3 separate regions of the Homo sapiens genome follow, and all the other regions are linked to region 2. The links are contacts of gene promoters, found by promoter capture Hi-C in blood cells and fetal thymus (Javierre and others, 2016). All regions are on one chromosome and are shown on one strand. The core of a region is centred on a gene start or on the middle of the fragment in contact, and the rest is flanking DNA. Distances in the headings are between cores, read along the strand shown. Region 1 overlaps MRPS14 (mitochondrial ribosomal protein S14). Region 2 holds the start of SERPINC1 (serpin family C member 1). Region 3 has its middle 77 kb from the start of FASLG.

Evidence for each region. Contacts are between HindIII fragments. The CHiCAGO score rates a contact against its expected background, and 5 or more counts as called.
Region 1: a fragment that was not itself captured here is called in contact with the fragment with the promoter of SERPINC1 in region 2 in 1 of 17 cell types (neutrophils); the score reaches 6.6 in neutrophils.
Region 3: a fragment that was not itself captured here is called in contact with the fragment with the promoter of SERPINC1 in region 2 in 1 of 17 cell types (total B cells); the score reaches 5.0 in total B cells.

What each region holds. Positions count from the first base shown.
Region 1 is chr1:175,013,813-175,016,670 of GRCh38, forward strand. MRPS14 (mitochondrial ribosomal protein S14) reads right to left here. Exons shown (of 3, transcript NM_022100.3): 3 at 1-1,039. The coding sequence ends at 857. Among named protein-coding and RNA genes, the nearest start is that of MRPS14, 8.2 kb to the right of the region's middle. The HindIII fragment of the contact is 1,233 bases long and covers 816-2,048 here.
Region 2 is chr1:173,916,012-173,918,944 of GRCh38, forward strand. It overlaps SERPINC1 (serpin family C member 1), which reads right to left and starts at 1,316. Exons shown (of 7, transcript NM_000488.4): 1 at 1,208-1,316. The coding sequence starts at 1,248. It overlaps LOC124904457 (a long non-coding RNA gene), which reads left to right and starts at 489. Exons shown (of 2, transcript XR_007066739.1): 1 at 489-929. The HindIII fragment of the contact is 6,307 bases long and covers 1-2,933 here.
Region 3 is chr1:172,734,360-172,737,445 of GRCh38, forward strand. No RefSeq gene overlaps it. Among named protein-coding and RNA genes, the nearest start is that of FASLG, 77 kb to the left of the region's middle. The HindIII fragment of the contact is 1,346 bases long and covers 699-2,044 here.

The DNA of each region.
Region 1 (2,858 bases), core at 182-2,681, 1.1 Mb after region 2:
TTTGTTCCCTCTGTGTGCAGAAAAAAATCTCACCCCTCACCTCCTGATTTATTAAGTTCTCCAGGAATATTTTCCTGATGTTAAGTAGGTACTTCCATTCAGTATGTATATTTTTATCACTGGGCTGATGATCACACTGTTGAGTTACTGAATGAGAACTTTGTGCTACCCTTACTCATTTCTGTTATGGATTAAATAAACATAAAAATAGGGAATATATACTGTTCCAACAAACTTTTCCTCTTTAGATGGAGACTTTCAAGGACTTAAAGAGGCATAATTTGTTTTAAAGTCCCTTAAGGATGGACAAGAAAACACTTAGTGGTTCTTTTGTTCAGCCATCACAAGAAGAAGTGGAGCATTAGATAATCCAGAACAGCAGCCTTGCTATCCAATCTGTTTATCTAACAATAATAGTTAAGGGGAGCTCTGCAGGTCAGCAAAGCTAGTCCAGGATTACAAACTGCCATACATGAGCTACATGTCAATTAGTTGGATTATGTATAAGATAGCATTTTATGAAATAATGCTCTTAATACAAAAACCCCTATATGTTACTAAAAGATTAAACTTAAAAGGAGGGTATAAAAAACATTCACAGAAAATATTTATTATGCTACTCTTTGTACTATGTATGGGAACAGTATGTTTGTTAAGTCCAAGAGAAAAGATAATTCACTGACATGAAACACCCAAATGTCTTCATTTTAAAAGTAGTTTAGAGATAGCATCAGGTAGGCCAAACAACTGTACTGGGCCCCTGTAGAGATTAGGGTTTGGTCTATTAAAAAAAATCTTTGCTTGCTGGAACTGCAAGCTTGGCTTCCCTGCAAGCTCAATAGGTTCTGGAGCTCATTTACCATGTCGCTCGCTGGATCCCAGAAAGTTGCCCATGGTCAGCTAAGTGACGGAAGACTATACGACTAAGCCTCCAGCGCCGCTTCACACCACGCGGACGGGACGTCATAACACACCGATTTCTGATTCTAACAGGACAGCTATCCCGGGGGAGGGCAGCAATTTCTTCATCAGCCACATCCTAAGGGAAATCACATTATTACACAGATCACATTACATTGTTGCACATGTATTTTGCTCCTTCTCACTTGCAGGTAATTTTCTTTTCTTTTTTTTTTTTTTTTGAGACAGAGTCTCGCTCTGTCACCCAGGCTGTGGGTGTTAGATTGTGCAATGTCACAATCTCAGCTCACTGCAACCTCCGCCTCCTGGGTTCAAGTGATTCTCCTGCCTCAGCCTCCCGAGTAGCTGAGATTACAGGTGTGCACTACCACACTCAGCTAATTTTTTGTATTATTAGTAGAAACGGGGTTTCACCACGTTGCCCAGGCTGGTCTCAAACTCCTGAGCTCTGGCAATCCGCCCATCTCTGCCTCCCAAAGTGCTAGGATTACAGGTGTGAGCCACAGCGCCTGGCCACTGGCAGGTAATGTTCATTGCATGAGTACCATAATTCATTTATCCATCCTACATTTGATGGTCATCTTACGATTTGGGCGAATATAAATAGTGCAGCTACATACTCTTGTTTAACTCATTTGTAAAGTATGTGAATGTATTTCTGTTGCCGCCTCATGTTTTTTGAATCACGAAAGTGAAACCTCTGGAATGATGATCAAATAGGAGGGAATGTGGCTTGAGATAAGACTAGAGAAGGAGGAAGGAGAGTATCACATGGAGCCCTGATGTCTATGGTAAAGATTCTGACAGCTAGAGAAGTAAAGGGGAGAGATCAGATGAGGTTTATATTTAAAAAAAATCATTTGCAAGGTAGAGGATGAATCAGGTAAGGGCAAAGTGGTTGAGGGGAGAAAAGTAGGGATTACAGCAGTAGCTAGGGCTCAGGTTTTGTCAGTAGAGATTTCTTCTTATGTATGTGTTCAAGAGTGTGAGTGTTCATAATATTCACTTTAATCTGATAAGTGTGCTAACAAGTAGATGGACCCTGTGCTAGACTGCGGTGCAAGCAAAATAACACATTAAAATAACACAAATTAAATGAAAGTATATAAAAGCCAAAAATTAACAAAAGCTTATGCATGTGTTACCATTATGAACTAACAGAATTACATAAAACAACATGATTGCCAGGCACAGTGGCTCACGCCTATAATCCCAGCACTTTGGGACGCCGAGGCAGGCGGATCATCTGAGGTCAAGAGTTCGCGACCAGCCTGACCAACATAGGGAAACCCCATCTCTACTAAAAATACAAAATTAGCTGGGTGTGGTGGCACATGCCTGTAATCCCATCTGGCCGGGAGGCTAAGGCAGCAGAATCGCTTGAACCCAGGAGGCAGATGTGGTGAGCCCAGATTGTGCCACTGCACTCCAGCCTGGGCAACAAGAGCAAAACCCCATCTCAAAAAAAAAAAAACAAAAAAAAACCATGATTGAGCCATTGAGTAGTAAACAATAAATGCTATACAAGGAACTGGAGAGGAGAAATGACTGGGCAAGAAGATTGAAGCCAAGTTTCATGGAGGTGGACCTTAAAGAATGGCTAGAAATTATGGATTGATTGATTGATACATACCCCTTCCTTCTTGTTCCCCGAAAGATTTAAGGCAGTTTACAAATGAGGAAACTGGGGCAAAGAGAAATGAGAGTAGGAAAGATAAAAGCCTCAGGACACAAAAGTGCATGCTGTGAAATTAGAACTGGGACATAAATTTGACTTGTAAGCTACTTGGCAGGCAGCAGAGAACCATGATCAGTTTACATGATTCACAGACTCTGCACAGTTATTGCTGCTAGTCATACCAGAGACATGTCTTCTGGGTATCTTCATAAAGGTACTCAAACAACACACCCCCAGCTGTATTAATGTATAGTTGACA
Region 2 (2,933 bases), core at 66-2,565:
TTTTACTCTTTCACCAGTTATTGCCACTGCTTTAGTTCAGGCTCTCATCCCTTTTTATTGCCTGGAATTTTTAATAGTCGCCAACATGGATTCAATGAAGGTAAATGAAGCTAATTTCACATTTTAAAAAAATGAGGTAGTTGGGACACTCGATGAAGCAAATCAAGAGATAAAGTCTCTTGTAATATTTTTTGTAGATAAGACAGGGTGGGGCAGGGGCTGCCTCCAGCTGGTTTATGGTTCCTGCGTGTACACAAGGGGGTCTGTGTGTGGGTACTGGATCTTCCCATCTTCTCCTGGGAGAGAAAGACAGGCACCCAGTGCAGATTCACGGACGTGGTCCGTTGGGCAAGCCTGGGGCTGGCTGGAAGCTGGGGCAGCTGAGGGGGACTTGCCTTCTTGCGTGGTCTGAGTCCAGTTCTGCAGCCCTTTCAAGAACAGAGGTGCAAAGCCGGAGAGAAGCAGCGGCACCAAGGGAGATGTGGAAGGCAGGCTGAAGAAGCAGAGAGAGAGAGGAGAGGACCCTGCCATTCATCTTCCCATCTCCACTGCCTTCGGTTGCCCACTCTGTCCTTCAACTACATTTGGAAATGCAATTTGAGGCTGAGAGGACCCTGGGAGGGCTATGAAGCACAAATTAAAACCAAGACAGTTGTGCCACCACCCCGTTTCTAGCCTCCTGTGACAACTCAGATGAAGAAGGGAGTGTGTGTGGCATTGAGGGAGGGACAACTCTCATTGTGAGAAAAGGAAGCAGTTTTGGCCCTTTAGTCAAAGGTCACTGGGATTTGGGTGGGGGTGGAGTGGGGTGGATCTGAGTGGAAGAAAGAGCAAAAAGGGAGTGAGGAGGTCCTCATGGGTAGCATTTGCTCTCTTCCCGGATGGATGGCAGGCCCTGGGGATTCCCCTTGGAGCGTCCCCTGGATCCCGTGAGTGCTGACTTCCTGCACAGCATCTTTACACCAGGGATGACATCCCCCTTGTTTCTTAGGCTAGGGACCCAAGGGGTAGCTTAGGAAAGGCCTTACCCCAAGAGGTGGGGTGGGAGGGAGAGCACTTGAAATGACGTCTTCCAAACAGGTCTTTGACTGTAACTACCAGGGAGAGGGCCTGGTCTTCTCAAAGGTGTTGGAGGTCATTCCTGTGAGTCCTTTGGAGGTCACAAAACCCAGTAGGGGCAGGCAAGGGGAAAGCTCACCCCTCTTACCTTTTTCCAGAGGTTACAGTTCCTATCACATTGGAATACATGGCCGCTAATCTTCCACAGGGCTGGGCAAGTGGAGATAGTGTGATCTGAGGCAATCCGCCTGAAAACTGGTTCTTTCCTCTAAATCTCGCAGAGGTTCCAGAGGACAGGGTGGGGCAGAGAGCTGGTCAGGAGGGGGAACTGAGGTCAAAGGCTGATGACCAGTTCCCAGGGTTAAGCAAAGTGTAGAGCCCAGTGTTGTTTAATTAGTAGAGAAGTTTTAAAGTTCAATCAGGCCCAGGGAAAGCCTGAGCCACCTCTCTTGCCCACACTCCCTCACTCTTCTCCTCAGCTTTATAGAAAAGGAAAAGGAGAGTATGTTCATACCCTCAAACTTGGTTAGGAAACTAACCAAGGAAACAAACTTGGTTCATACCCACCCTCTCTCATAGTTTTCTTTATGGAGAGAGGGAGAGAGAGAGAGAAATATCTAATTAGAGAAGGCAAAGAGGGACAAGCTGCTACCTTCAGGCATCTGAGTGCCAAGGTGTCCCTGGCACAGACAAGGAAAACACAATGGTTACACCTGTGGCCCACAGAGAGACCCATTCCCCAGCAGCCCTGAAGTGGTGGGACAGGGAGAGAAGAGCAGGGCCTCGGGGTGCATGCCAAGCGCGTTTCTAAGGGGTGTGAGCAGCTGGGAAATACTTAGCAAAACTCTACTGGGGGATCAGGAGACAGAATGCGGGGCAGGTGAAAAACCCACGTACAACTGCTGAAATAAAAACAAACTAAATTATATTTATGTGTATCGTTATTTTTATTAGTTATTGGGGAGATTGGGTAAATTCAAACTAGTGGAGATAAAGGGCAGGTTTGTTTACATTTCCCTCTTCTGAAATAGCCAAAAGCACCATCACAAGGACTGCAGCCACCAAGTTCACAGGGCGCATGTGCCTCCTGCTGTGTGATCAAGGACTCCTTGTAGTTGTTGTTGCAGTCATAGGCATTTTCGAGAGCTCTTCGTTCATGAGAGAGGACATCTCTCCTGAACTGAAGCTGTGTCTAAGTTCTTGGCTGATTCAGACCCTGGATCCTTTGAAGCCCTCCATGTGCAGTGTGAACAGTAGCCGAGAACTGTCCCAAAGGGCCCCAGAATGCCCAGAGGCTCATCTGTCACCCTAGATTAAAGACTATTGAAAAGTCTCCTGTTCAACCACTTGAGTTCAACAAATACACGAGTGCTGCTTGTGCCAGCAGACACTGTTCTTGGGGCTGGGATTCCATTCGGGGGAGACATACAGCAATCACATAAAGAATCAGTATTTTAGGCCAAGCGTGGTGGCTCACACCTGTAATCCCAGCACTTTGGTAGGCTGAGGCAGGTGGATCACCTGAGGTCAGGAGTTCGAGACCGGCCTAGCCAACCTGGTGAAACCCCATCTCTACTAAAAATACAAAAAATAGCTGGGCATGGTGGTGGGCACCTGTAATTCCAGCTACTCAGGAGGCTGAGGCAGGAGAATCACTTGACCCCAGGAGGCAGAGGTTGCAGTGAGCCGAGATCGTGCTATTGCACTCCAGCCTGGGTGACAGAGCAAGACTCCATCTCAAAAAAAAAAAATCAGTATTTAAAAAATAAATATGTAACGTGCCAGTCAGATGTTAATAAGGTCCATAGAGAAAACTATAGCAGGGCAAGGATATAGGAAGCAGTGGGAGGAAGTGGGGAGGGCACCATCTGAGA
Region 3 (3,086 bases), core at 122-2,621, 1.2 Mb before region 2:
CCTTCTTATATGTTCCTGGATATTACTTGTTAATAATTCATTGGGAATTTTTCGTGATCATGCTCATGAAGGATATTGGTTTGTAATTTTATTCTCTTGCATACATTTTGTCTGGTTTTGTTGTCAGGGTAATGATGACCTCACAAAAAAATTTAGAAAATATTTCTCCTAGTCTATTTTCTGGAAAAAATTATGTTGATTTAATGTTATTACTTTCTCAAATGTTTGGTTGATATTATCAGTGAAGTCTTGTGGTACTTTTCTTTGTTGGAAGGTTTTAAACTATAAATTCAGCTTTTAATAGATGGCTCAGTTTACTTATTTCTTCTCAAGTGAATTTTGGCAGTGTATCTTTAAAGATTTATTCCATTTTATTTAAGTCATTGAATGTATGGGCATAAAGTTATTTGTAGTATTCTCTTGTACCCTTTTAATGTCTGTAGTATCTGTAGTAATATCCCTTCTTTCATTCCTGATATTGATAATTTGTGTTATCTTTTTTCTGTCTTAGTCTGGCTAGGGGTTTATTAATAATTTTGATGTTTTAATACAATTGATTTTATAAATGTTCTCTATTTTGTGTTTTTAATTTTATTGATTTGTGCTCTTTCTTATTTTCTTCCTTCCATTTGCTTTGTGTTTAATTTGCTCTTATTTTTCTAGTTTCTTAAGGTATAAAGTTGGAATATAAATTTAAAAGCTTTATTCTTTTCTTTTTTTCCTCATGTTTCTTGGCTGGAAGTCAATGGATATTGTCCAGAGTTGAAACATTATTTATTTATGTAGTTATTTTTTGAGACAAGAGTCTTACTCTGTTACCCAGGCTGGAGTGCAGTGGCACAATCTCGGGTCACTGCAAACTCCACCTCCCGGGTTCAAGTGATTCTCATGTCTCGTGTCTCAGTAGCTGGGACTACAGGTGTGTGCCACCACTCCCAGCTATTTTTTTTGTATCTTTAGTAGAGATGGGGTTTCATCATGTTTGCCAGGCTGGTCTTGAACTCCTGGCCTCAAGTGAAGCACCTGCCTTGGCCTCCCAAAGTGCTGGGATTACAGGTGGGAGCCACTGTGTCTGGCCCTGTATTTTAATATTTAGGTAATTTAGAATATTTTCTGAATTCTCTTGAGACTTCCTTTTTGATCAATGGGTTACTTAGAAAGGTTTTACTTAATTTCCAAAATTTTTGGAATTTTCCAGATACCCTCGTTATTAATTTCTAATTTAATTCTCTTACGGTCAAAGAAAACAATGCTTTCTATTGTTTTCAATTGGCTATAGTTTGCTTATGGTGCAGAAGATTGGTAGGTAACCTTTTCTGTAAAGGGTCAGATAGTAAATACTTTTGGTGTTAGGGCCATATGGTCTCTCCTGCACTATTCATCTCTGCCTTTGTGACACAAAAATAGCCACAGACAACACACAAACAAATTGGCATGGTTATGTCTCAATAAGACTAATTTACAAAAATAGATGGTGGGTGAAATTTTGTCCACAGGTTATAGTTTGCTAATCTCTGATCTACCTTGGTGAATGTTCCACATACACTTGAAAAGAATGTATATTCTCTTGTTCTAGGGCAGAATACTTTATAAATATTAATTAGGTCAAGTTGACGGAGAATGTTCAGATCTTCTTTTTTTTGTTTTTGTTCAGAGTCACTTTATTTGAAAGGCTCTGCACATATCTTTGCATACCACAAACTAGAAAAACAAGTTATCATAAATTAGAGAATTAAAAATAAAACACATTGATACAATATTTGAAATATGAAAGACCCTGAGAAGTCATATTTGGTAGTACATTTCAGTCACAACAGGCAAAAGTTTGCTATTTTGAAAAAGAATCAGAAAAAAGGGTGAAAGAGATTTTATGTATTTCTTTCTTCTTCTGTCCAAAATCTAGTTCTTGTGTTTGCTATTTTCACTGCTATAATTTAATTAAAAAGTATATAATCTTCTAAAAATTTCTGGTATAATGCTATTAAAAATACATAGCGATAATGCTTTCACATATATGAGGTTTTCACATATTATATAATATGAAAGCTTATAGTTTTCAAAATTAGGCTTCCCTTTCATAGACTGATGCCTGCCACAAACTATTTACTTTTAAAAGATATTTCCTTTAAATACGCTAGTAAACTATCAGATCACTATATTTCATAGTCTATTATACACAACTGAACATCAGAACCTAGAAACTGAATTGGCAGAAGCAATGATTAAATCTAGACATAACTAAGAAAAAACAAAATTAAGTCCCCAGGAAAAGGCTAAGAGAAGGTACTCTGGGCATTTCTGACACAATTTGTCATAATGTCAAAATAACATGACTTTGTAAATAATATTAACTATATGTAATATTTCTGCCATACAAATGACCTAGAGATTGAATTATAACTTCTGTTAATTTTTATAAAAGATAAGTCTGTTCCAACCAGTATTTAGTTGATGAAGAATAGTGTTCATGGAACTTAGGTCAAATAGGGTTGTTCATAAAATAAATTCATTTTTATCTTTTCTAGAATGTTTTTTTTCTCTCAAAAGACAAGGGACTGAGCAGCTATAAAATGTTCACTTTTCTGGTTGTTCAGGTCTTCTTAATTCTTGCCTATTTTCTACTTCTGTTAATTATCAGGAGGTGCTTTGATGTCTCCAAGTATAATTGTAGATTTGTCCATTTTTCCTTTTAGTTGTATCAGTTTTCGATTCATGTATTTTGAAGCTCTGTGGTTTTGCACATACATACCTGGATTGTTATGTGTTCTTGGTATGTTTGCCTCTCTTCCTCCCTGACAATGTTCCTTGTTCTGAAGTTTGCTTTGATAACAATATAGCCATTCTTGCATTCTTTTTGTTAGTGTATGTTGATGGTTTGTCATTTTCTATTCTTTTATTTTTAATTGATCTATATAATAATATTTATAGTAAGCTGCTTATAGACTTTAATTGTATCCCCCAATTTTTGATATGTTCTTTTCATATTTAAGTAGGTCAAAATATTTTCTGAATTCTCTTGAGACTTTTTGATCAATGGGTTATTTAGAAGGGTGTTGTTTAATTTTTTCTTTCTTTCTTTTTTTTTT